2 separate regions of the Homo sapiens genome follow, and region 1 is linked to region 2. Evidence: promoter capture Hi-C in 16 types of primary human blood cells and fetal thymus (Javierre and others, 2016). All regions are on one chromosome and are shown on one strand. The core of a region is centred on a gene start or on the middle of the fragment in contact, and the rest is flanking DNA. Distances in the headings are between cores, read along the strand shown.

What was found. The method cuts DNA at HindIII sites, captures the fragments that hold promoters and counts their contacts. A CHiCAGO score of 5 or more calls a contact.
Region 1: a fragment that was not itself captured here is called in contact with the fragment with the promoter of CFAP58-DT in region 2 in 1 of 17 cell types (neutrophils); the score reaches 5.1 in neutrophils.

The regions. Positions count from the first base shown.
Region 1 is chr10:103,979,891-103,985,220 of GRCh38, reverse strand. The region is part of intron 1 of SLK (STE20 like kinase); the gene reads right to left. Among named protein-coding and RNA genes, the nearest start is that of SLK, 15 kb to the right of the region's middle. The HindIII fragment of the contact is 2,153 bases long and covers 1,295-3,447 here.
Region 2 is chr10:104,349,450-104,355,213 of GRCh38, reverse strand. It overlaps CFAP58-DT (CFAP58 divergent transcript), which reads left to right and starts at 1,639. Exons shown (of 2, transcript NR_108036.1): 1 at 1,639-2,096; 2 at 3,287-3,913. CFAP58 (cilia and flagella associated protein 58) reads right to left here and starts at 1,381. Exons shown (of 18, transcript NM_001008723.2): 1 at 1,308-1,381. The coding sequence starts at 1,316. RefSeq lists enhancers at 1,652-1,711, 2,989-3,098, 3,119-3,168, 3,927-3,986, 5,217-5,336 and 1 more. The HindIII fragment of the contact is 7,343 bases long and covers 930-5,764 here.

The DNA of each region.
Region 1 (5,330 bases), core at 1,122-3,621, 370 kb after region 2:
ACTAAACCCTATGTATACTATGTTTTTTCCTTGCATACATACTTATGATAAAGTTTAATTTATAAATTAGGCACGGTAAGAGACTAACAACAATAATAATAAAATAGAACAACTGTAACAATATACTATCATAAAAATTATGTGAATGATGTCTCTCAATACATCTTACTGTACTGTACTCACCTATTTTCAGACTGCAGGTAAATAAAACCATGGAAAGTGAAACCTCGGATAAGGGGGAACTACTGCATAAAAATCTATTAAAAATCTTGGTCAAATCTTGACCAAAAGAGTTGATCTGCTGAAATCCATTCATTCTTCCAACAAATACTTACTGAGTGCCTTCTATATGTTAGGTTACTGTTCTAGATGCTGACAATGTGCAAATATGCAAAATCTCTCTGTGCTGGGGTACTTACAATTTTGGGGAGTGGACAGTCAACAAATAAATCAGTATATTAGCAATTAGTACTGTGGGAAAAAGTAAACTAATAAGAAAGATGAGAAGGCTGAGCGCGGTGGCTCATGCCTGGAATCCCAGCACTTTGGAAGGACGAGGTGGGCAGATCACTTGGGCCCAAGAGTTCGAGACCAGCATGGACAAATGGCGAAATACTGTCTCTACCAAAAAATACAAAAATTAGCACGGTGTGGTGGTGCACGCCTGTAATCCCAGCTACTCAGGAGGCTCAGGCACAAGAATCACTTGAACCCAGGAGGGAGAGGTTGCAGTGAGCCAAGATTGCACCATTGCGCTCCAGCATGGTTGACAGACTGAGACTCTGTCTCAAAAAACATAAAATAAGATGAGGAAATGGGGTATGAGAGCACACAGGCCAGAGTTTACAACTTAAATAGGGTAGTTAAGTTAGGTCTAACCGAGGTGATATTTGAGCATATTAATATCAATAAAATTCAATGATTATTTTAATGTTTTTACCTATATAAATTGGAAATATTAGTATTTTGCAAAGAAATCAGTAAGAAAAATCTCAAATTATTTCAAGTATGTTATCGTATATAGTAATATCCATCGTGCTATTAGAAGAGGCACTGTTCTCTGCACTTTCCATTTAGTAACTTATTTAATCCTTGTATCAGTTAGGGTCCAGACAGGAGGAAAATCACATTGATTATTTTAATAGAGAAATTTAATAAAAACAATGACTAACTCTGTTGCCAACTGAAAAAATAATACAAAGGATCAGGGAGGTAACAACTACAGGCAAAAGCTACCACCCCTAGGACTATGGGAACAAAGGGAAAAGATTGGAATTATTAAAATTCAGAAGCTTGGAGGAAGGGTTCCACAGAGCTGAAACTCAGACGGACCTCTGAGGACAGAGTGCTGCTCAGCTGGTGCTGTTGTCTCTGAAGAGGGGTCCTGTGAGACTGCGACCCAAACTTTTGAGGAACAGGGTACCAGCCAACTGGTGCTGGTGTTATGAAGGGTTATGATGAGGTTAGTTCTGTGAGTGTTGGAAAAACTACAAACTGTATTCAACAGCTGCTACAGAAAGAAACTGCTGATGCTGGAGCAAAAAAAAAAAAAACCTCTACAAGGGTGATGGTCAAAGTAACAAGCAGACAGGAAGTTCACAGGAAACAAGACAAAGGTGTAAGTCATTTCTTCCTCCTTCTCCTTGCAGCCTCCCTCTAGTGCCCTATACTTTTGAAACAGAAATGAGCTGCTAGCAAGGCAGAAATGTGATCTGCAGTCTTTGAACCAGCATCACAAAGCATAGAAGGGCGTATTTGGAACTGAGATTAAGAACTGGCATAATCCTTCAAAACCTATGAGCAACACAGATGGGAGAGCTAAGGTACAGAGTAGAGTAAACGTTTGGGTAATAAATATCCAAAGTTCCAAAAAGCTATTAAGTGAAGAGAGAGGAAACCGCACTGAAGGAAGCATATACTTTTAGACTGTTCATACTGTTATCTGTTTTAAATTACATGCAAATTATGGTGATCTTTTCAGTCCTGCTAAGATTTTGGTAGGAACAAGTATCAATATTAAAAAAGAATAAAATCATTCATCATCATTTAGCAAACACACAGAGTTAATTCTCATTATTTGTGGTAGTTATGTTTTATAAAATCACTGCAAGCACTGAATTAGCGACTACTGAAACATTGTTCATAGGGAAAACCATGCACATACACACACCCCTCACATAGATTATTATATTCTTAAATCCTGAAAACAATTCATCCAGGGAGATTCTCCTTTCTTTATTTTACAAAAGAGAAATGAGGTGTATAAGTGTTAAGTGACTTGCGGAAGGCCATCCCAAAAACAGATGTCAGACTTGGGATTCAAACCCTATCCAACTGGCCCCCACAGCCAGACCTTCTTGCACTTCACTACACTGCCCTCTGCTGTCTCCGTCCTCTGGTCATCTCTTCATGAGAGGTGAAATCAAGGCAGTGTCACCTTGTTCAAGTTTAGCTGGGAATGTGCTTGCTAGAGGAGTCAAATTTTTTTGCAGCTTTGCGCATACACACAAATAACCAAGTAAGTGCCGCAAGTATAGATTTTAGGACTACAAGTAAACTTTAACAAGTAGGCAAATTCACAAATACAAAATCTGCAAATAATGAGGATCGACTGTACATATTCTTTCTGTAATTTCTGTAAAATATTACAGAAATTCCAAGGATTATGTCATTTCCTGAAATCTGCAAAAGAGAAAGAAATATACTTTATATTCTCCTTATATTTTCTTCACATTCCCAAACTCTATTTTATTTATATTGTTCTGGTTAGGTATTCAAAATTTAGTCACTGGTCAGTCAAAATATAGCAACAAAATGGTGTCAGTAATAAGTTAAATTTGGCTAAGTCTGCAGTTTCCAAAATGTTTTACCAATTCTCAGATCACACAGTTTTCCTGCTTATTGCAAGGACTTATTGACTCTGAGCAGCATGAATATGCAGAAACAAACACAACTGTGTAATAAAGAAGCTGAGGAAATGTGCATAGATTGCATAGTTGGAAAAGATGAAAAACAGAACACAAAAAGACAATTTCAAAAATATATTTTAAAATAAGACAAAAAATGTACCACGTCTGGAAATTAATTCAAGAAAAATAAAGACTTTTAAATAGTAAGGAAAACAATCCCATTTACGATAGCATCAAAGAGAATAAAACACTTGGGAATTAACTTAACCAAGGAGATGAAAGACTTGTACAATGAAAACTAAAAAATCAATGCTGGAAGAAATCAAAGACATAAATAAAAACACATCCCATGTTCATATATTGGAGGCCTAATATTGTTAAAATGTCAATACTACCCAAAGCAATCTACAGATTCAATGCAATCCCTATCAAAATCTCAATGACATTTTTTGCAGTAATAGAAAACCCTATCCCAAAATTCACATGGAATCTCAATGGACCCTGAATAGCCAAAATAATCTTGAAAAAGAACAAAGCTTGAAGACTCACACTTCCTGATTTCAAACTTACTACGAAGCTACAGTAATCAAAACAGTGCAGTCCTGAAATATAAACCAATGGAATAGAGACCAGAAAAAAAAAAACTGGCATATATATGGTCTAATGATTTTTGGCAAGGGTTCCAAGACCAGTCAATGAGAAAAGGACAGTCTTTTCAAAAAATGGTACTGGGAAATCTGAATATCCACATGTGAAACAGTGAAGTTGGACCCTTACCTAACACCATAAACAAAAATTAACTCAAAATGGACCAAAGAAAAACCTAAATGTAAGACCTAAAACTATAAAACTCTCAGAAGACAGCATGAGGCAAAAGCTTTATGATACTGGACTTGACAATGAATTCTGAGATATGACACTAAAGCACAGGCAACAAAAGAAAACACGGAACTGGACTTGATGAAAATTGTAAAATGTTATACATTTTAAAAGACAATATTACAGTAAAATGGCAACCTATAAAGTGACAGAAAATATTTACAAATCATGTATCTGATGAGGATTAATATCCAGAATATACAGACAACTCCTAAAACTCAACAACAACAACAACAACAACAAAAAAAACCCACAACTAGCCCAATTCAAAAATAGGCAAAGGAGCCGAACAGGTATTTCTCCCAGGAAGATATACAAATGGCCAATAAGCACATGAAAAGATGCTCAACGTCACTAATATTAGAGATATATAAGTCAAAACTATATAAGTACCACCTTACACCCACTAGGATGACTATTACTTTAAAAAAGAATGAAAAGAACAAGTATAGGTAAAGATGTGGAGAAATTAGAACTCTTGTGCACAAATCGATGGAAATGTAAAATTGGTACAGCTACAGAAAACAATATGGCAGTTCCCCCAAAAAATTAAAAATAGATTCCTACAAGATCCAGGAATCCCACTCCTGGGTATATACCCTAAAAAACTGAAAGCAGGGTCTCAAAGAGATACTTGTACACCCACGTTCGTAGCTAAATACACAACAGCTAAAACATGCAAGCAATCCAAGTGACATCAATAGATGAGTGGATAAGAAAAATGTGTATATACATACCACAAATATTATTCAGCCTTAAAAAGGAAGGAAATTCTAACATATGCTATGACATGGATGAACCTTAAGGCTCATTACGCTAAAGGAACTAAGTCACAAAATGATAAATACTGTATGATTCCATTTAATGAGGTACTTAGGATAGTCAAAATCATGGTATCAAAAAGTAGAAGAACAGTTGCCTAGGGCAGGAGGAAGGAAGAAATAGGAAGTTACTGTTTAACACGGTAGAGTTTCATTTTAAAAGATAAGAGGCATGATGGACAGACAGTGGTGACAGTTGCACATTACGAATGTATTTAATACCACTGAACTAGACATTTAAAAATCATGACGATGGTGAATCTTCACAGGATATAAAAAATAGTCAAGACAGTAAATTTTATGTGTATTTTACTACAATTAAAAAATTGAAAAATAAATGTGCACAAATTTTGTAATTTCAAAATAAGCATTAATAAATAATCATTTGTTTTGCTCTAACAATTCTCCTAAAAATTTAACCTAAGAGAATGTCATGGAAATATACTATGTGCGTACGGACATCCATTATATGATGGAAGCATTGCAAAGCAGTAAGAAAAGGACGGTCTTTAAAGTACATGGTGCTGGGACAACTGGGTATCTACATAGAAAAAATAAAATTCGGTCCTTACCTCACTCTATAAGCAAAAATCAACACCAGTTTAATTACACACCTAATGTAGAAGGCAATACCATAAAACTTTACAAAGATAACACAGCAGGATATCTTCACCATCTTGGTTAGGAAAGAATTTCTTAAGACAAAAACATTAGCCATGTA
Region 2 (5,764 bases), core at 390-2,889:
AATAATGGGACAATAAAGAACTAGAAGGAACAAGAAAGGAAATGGGAAGAAAGAGATACAAATGACTATGGGTAATGGGGAGAAGTGAAGTGGCCACAGCAGCATGGATGTCAGAGAGAGATGTGAGTGATGGAGCCCAGGCGTGAGGAAGATGGATGATATGAAAGAGATCGTATGATAAGGAAAGGAAGGAGGTGTTGACCACGGGAAGACGGAATTTATAAAGCTAGACTGGAGATGGAGGAAAAGCAATGATGAGGGGATGTGAATGGTGCAGAGGAAGCAAGAGAGTAACTAGAATGGGGTGGGGAGGGGGTGGAGCACGATGGTGCTGAAAGATGATGGGGCTTGGGCTGGCTTCATGGGAGTGAAAACTGGTCAGTTGCACAGGGCCCCTTGCTCAGAAAGGCCCCATTCTTGGTTGAATGCTCTGCTGTTCTGTCTTAAAATTATTTGTAATTTTTGAAGAGACTTTGTGTTTTCACTTTGCATCAGGCCTTGCAAATCATGTAGCTGGTCCTGGCTGGAACAGACCGTGGGATGGGTGATGGGGGAAGGGCTCTGATGGGGCCATGAAGGATTTGGGTAGGGCCATAGTGGATGGGGACTGTGAATGGCAAGTAATGACAGGGACCCGAGGCTCTTGAGGTTATACGTGAGGGGGCTAAGGGGCAGGCAGGGAGTCACTGAAGGGTTGCAGAAATAACCCCTCATTGGAGAGGCTGAAAATGGGGTGTACTGTAATATGGGGGAGTGGTGGGGTGATACGAGATGTTAACACAGGAGTCAATGAACACACGGGGCAGAGGTGATGGGCAGAAGAGCCTTAATGAAGCTGTGTGACAGCAGGTGATCACATGTTAGGAAATCAGGGTGTGACAGGTGGACAAGGGCCATTGATTGGGATGACAGCAGGCATCTGTGAAGCTTTCTTCCCGGTTTCCCCTGTGAGATAAGACATCTCCAATATTTCTGTGTGAGCCTCTCTTATGGTATCACTCCATGACTAAAAATCTAGGGCTGGGTGCATGTCACGTGTGGATTTCAGAATTCATTAATTTTCTACCGCACTTAGCATAGCGCCGATGCCACAGTGGGGATAGTGGGGTGTCCACACAAATGAAGGAGAAACAGGAGGTAAAGAGGCCAGAGCCAACGGAGAAAGGCGCGGGAGTGAGTGAGGGTGCAGGGGAATAAGATGTTGATGGGGGGAAATATTGGAATCACCGTTTGTGACAATCGTCAGTAGGAGAGGGACAATGGGGAGGGGTCAAGGGAAAGGCGACAGAGGGGCGCTGACTCCTGACCTCAGCCATCCTGATGCTCTCTGGGGGCGGCCTCAGAGGCTGCTGTGGAGATCGCAGGAGCTGGGCCGGAGTCTGGGAAAGAAGCTAAAGGCGCGACGCGCTGTCTCTATCGCCCGCCCCGAGCGGAAACCCGCGCTCGGCGCGTCGGCCCGTCGCCTGGCAACGGACACGCCCTCTAGGGGCGCTAGCGGGAATTCGAAAGGGGAGGAGCTTCTGCGGCTGGCACCTGGGCAGGGTTCCTCAGAGAAATATGCAAATATATCCCAATGGGGCGGAGCCAAGGAAGTGAGGGGGCGGTGCCCCTGAGAGGCTGGGAGGAGTCCCACGGTGTGGGCAGATGGAGACACCCAGGAGAAAGAAGAGGGCGAATTGGAAGAGGCCACCCAGAAAGGACGGTGTGTGACACTAGGGAGCCAAGCATGGAGAGCCGAGGACTAACGCTTGGAAGGAAATGTGGACCAGAAGGTTCCGGATGAGGGAAGGACTGGCGGCTACACTCTGCCTTCCGAGACAACGAGGAATAATCTCACTTCAGTCAGTTCAACCCTTGTAAAACAGCTACTGTGTGCAAGACACGGAGGGAAAGCTGAAGTAGAGAAACCACAGACGCTGTCTTCAAAGGGTTTAATCTAATATTAGTGATGAGAAAAATAGGGTGCAGAGCTTAAGGCATCCTGGAAAAACGTATGTAGCGCCACATCGCGAAAATCTCTCTTCTGGGACCCCTCTCCCAAAAACGTTTCTTCGCCCTCTTCTCCCCCTTCTGCCTCCACTCTTTCTGGACTTCAGGTACAAATAGTTGAAATAATTATACTCCTTGGTTCATGAAATGTGTAAGACTCCTCTCTGGTTTTATTTTCCCCCTTTATCCCCATCCCTACTCCCAACCCCTATCCTCAACCCCATAGGCATTCATGCTGCTGTGCTTCCATATGTATTTTTGGGAAATGTACAAAATTTTTATCAGTGTATTTTTTAAAAATGTTTAAATAATGCTACTGGACTTTGGAGATTATCTTATTTTCTACTTTTTTCACTCAACATTCTTTTTAAGGATCTGTCCTCGTTGCGATTGGCAAGCATATAGTTCATTGCTTCTGAGTACTGCACAGCGTTTCATAAGGGGCATCTACCACACTTCACTTCCATTCCCCAGGTGTTAGGTAACAAGGCCGCCTCTAATTCTCCAATACATCAAGTAATACAGCCATGATCGTCTTTGTCCGTGGTCCCTTAAGGACCTCTGTGCAAATTCCTCTGAAATATATGCCAAGGAGTAAGATTGTTAAAGTTATAGGGATGCACAGGGACATTTGCTTATGCAGCTGCGTCCTGCACAAACACATCCAGCCATGGGGCAATGGAGGCTGAAAAACTGTCTCTACTCTCTTTCCCGTGCCATGTGCCCTACTGGAGAAAGGTGTGCACTTTTTATTCTCACAAAATCTCTGTACGCCAGCCAAGTCATGAACCTAGAAGGCTGTAACTATCTAGAGGGTGTGATATTTTCAAACTCATCTGGCCAGATGAACAGTTTTCCAAGAGCACAACGATGCCCAGTAGCCTAGTACAAGCCCTGGGTACTTACCAAGCACTTTAAGATTGTGTACCAGAGTTACTGCCCTACGCTGCACTCCAGTGTGGGGTTTCCATCCAACACTTCCATCCATCCCTTCCAGAAGGTGATAGGTCTTTTTTATTAAACACTCATAAAGTGTTTAGTAAATACCAGATACTATTCTAAGTGCTTTGCAAATATTGACTCATCTAATTAGCTAATTTTCTAATTTCTGTCAATATGATGAAAGTAGTGTAAGCTCATTTTTTGCTTTCATTTTCACTTCTCTAACTACTAGTGAATTTTTTGACCATTTCTTTATACATTCATAGGCTACTTGAGATTCCCTTCTGTGAACTGCCTTTTCAGTGTCTGTGTCTATTTTTCTATTGATCTTTTTTCTTTTTCTTTTGATTTACAGATATCTTTGAGAAGCCTGGACATCAATCTGCTTTAGAAGACTAGAAACTCTGCCTTTATGTCTTTAAGGGAACAATAGTCCTTAACTTTGATACTGTGGCTCTTTAGCTCTTTTTTTCCCTATATTTTTTATATAGTTTTTTGGTATTATTTAGACCTCCTTAACCCCACGGTCATAAAGGTATTCTCCCATCATTTTTTTCTATCCATTAGCTTCATAGTTTTACTTTTTTACATTCAGTTATCTAATCCATCTGGAGTTCTCCTTCCCATATGGTGTGAGATAGGGATCTAACTATATTTTTCTCCATGGGGTGAGCAAATTTTCCAACAACCCATGTCAAACAATCCATTCTTTCCAAATTGGTTTGGGGAAGTTTCCAAATAGACATGAGTATGTTCTGAGCTCTCTGGTTTGTTCATGTGTCAGTACCACAAGGTTTTGTCACTGTGGGTTTTTAGTTAGTCATCATGCTTGAAGGGCAAGTTCCCCATTCCAAATTCTTCTGTGTTAAGATTGCTTTGTCTATCCACGGGCCTTTATCCTCCCTTATAATGTTTAGAGTAAGTTTGTCAAGTTTATGAGAACTGTGTTGGGTTGATGAATAAATGCAAGGAAAACTGGCAACTGTGCAGTGACATCTCATTCATGACCTGACACTGTATATCTGGTGGACAAAAAGAGGGAAATGTGGCTGAGTCATAATGTGCATGGAGGTTGCTGGAGAGGTGGCAGATGAACTGGAGAGGCAGGCTGAACCACACTGTAAGCCAAGCTAATAGAAATGAGCTTGAAATGGGACAGGCAACCCAGCTCAGGCTGCTTTGTGTGTTCACAGGAAACCTGATTACACATTGGGACCATCGGTTTGTAGGATTGCCATGATCCAGAGAAACTCCATAACATTTCTGAAAGTATATAACAAAAATAAAGACCTAGAGGGCCCTGGTCACCCATACGTTGCACTGATGTCAAGTGCAGGGCTGTGTGTCTTCCCATGTCCAAGGGATCTCCTAAAAGAGCTTTCATAAGTAGGTGCCCTGCATAGGTGACAGCAGTTCAATCCAGTAAACAATTTTTTAAGGAACGTACTGCATGGTAGGCACAAGGCTGCCCACAGGAAGCACCAAGGTGACTATGGCAGAGTCACTGCCCTTTGCATTCACAATCTGTATTAGGGGAAAGACAGAAGGGAACATCTACAGTTAATTCTAATGCAATAAGATGGTATCATTTAGTATATGCCATTTTAACAGAAAGCACAATGGGAGCTCAGAGAATCTAGATACTGGTATCTGAGACCTTACTTATAGGAGGACAAAAAGACCCAAATATGACTGAGCAATCAAAGAACCACAAGGAGGTAGAAAGGCGCGTGACATGTTCAGCTCATAGGAAAGAGATGCAGGGGGCATCAACACAGATGGATGAATGGATGAAAGGATGGGTGGTCGGACATATCAATTTATGCTGATGAAACAAAATGTTTGATTTCCAATTTTCTGGATTACAGAAGACTAGTCACCACCCTGCTCCCCTGTGTTGTTGTAATAACAAGAATCACTAGGTGGCATTATAGTATCAAAGTCCTCACCTTTCAGAGCCTCTAGGAGAAACACACCCAACAAGATCGCGTCAGCCCCTAATTTAGACAAATGAGTGCTTCTATTCATCTCATTTCTCATTATATCCACTTAATTTATTTCTTGAGCACCTACTATATGTCCAGCCCTATGTTGCATACTGTGGAGAGAGAATACAAAAGGAGTTGAAGACACGATCTTCTCCCTTGAGGAGCATCAGGAGAAGCAAATTGTGCACGCCAACACTCCCCTTAAAAGATTTTCTGACAACAGTCCGAGACAGGATATAGTAAGCACTGAAATGAGGATGTCAGTAAATAAGGTCCTGTGTAATCTGGCCCTTTCGACTTTCTGGTGCCAGCTCCCATCACTCACTCCTTGTTACACTGGTTCTTTCAATTCCCTGGGTAGCCATGCTCTTTCCCACTGCCTGGAATTCACAAATGCTGATCTTCCTGTCTGGAATACTTGACTCTCTCTCTTTCTCTCTTCAGCTGGCTGGCTCCCATCCAATCTTCTTTCAGATCTCACTTCTTCACATTACTTTCAGTCTCACTTCCCCAGACTACCTTTTCCAGCATTGTGTATTCTACTTCTTGCATCATCCCACAGTGGTAACTAATGGCCTAGTCATGTAAATAGTTGCTTAATACCTGTGTTCCCTACCACACCGTCAAACTACAGGAGCTCTAAGATGATGCACGTCTTCTTCACCCCTGTCTCCACTGGTGTTAGGGGCTGAATTGTGTCCCTCCAAAATTCATAAGTTAATGTCCAGATGCCCCCTACTTCAGAATGTGATGGTATTTGGAGATAGAGCCTTTAAAGAGGTGATTAAGTTAAAATAAGGCCGATCAGACTGGTATCCTTACAAGAAGAGGAAAATTGGTCACAC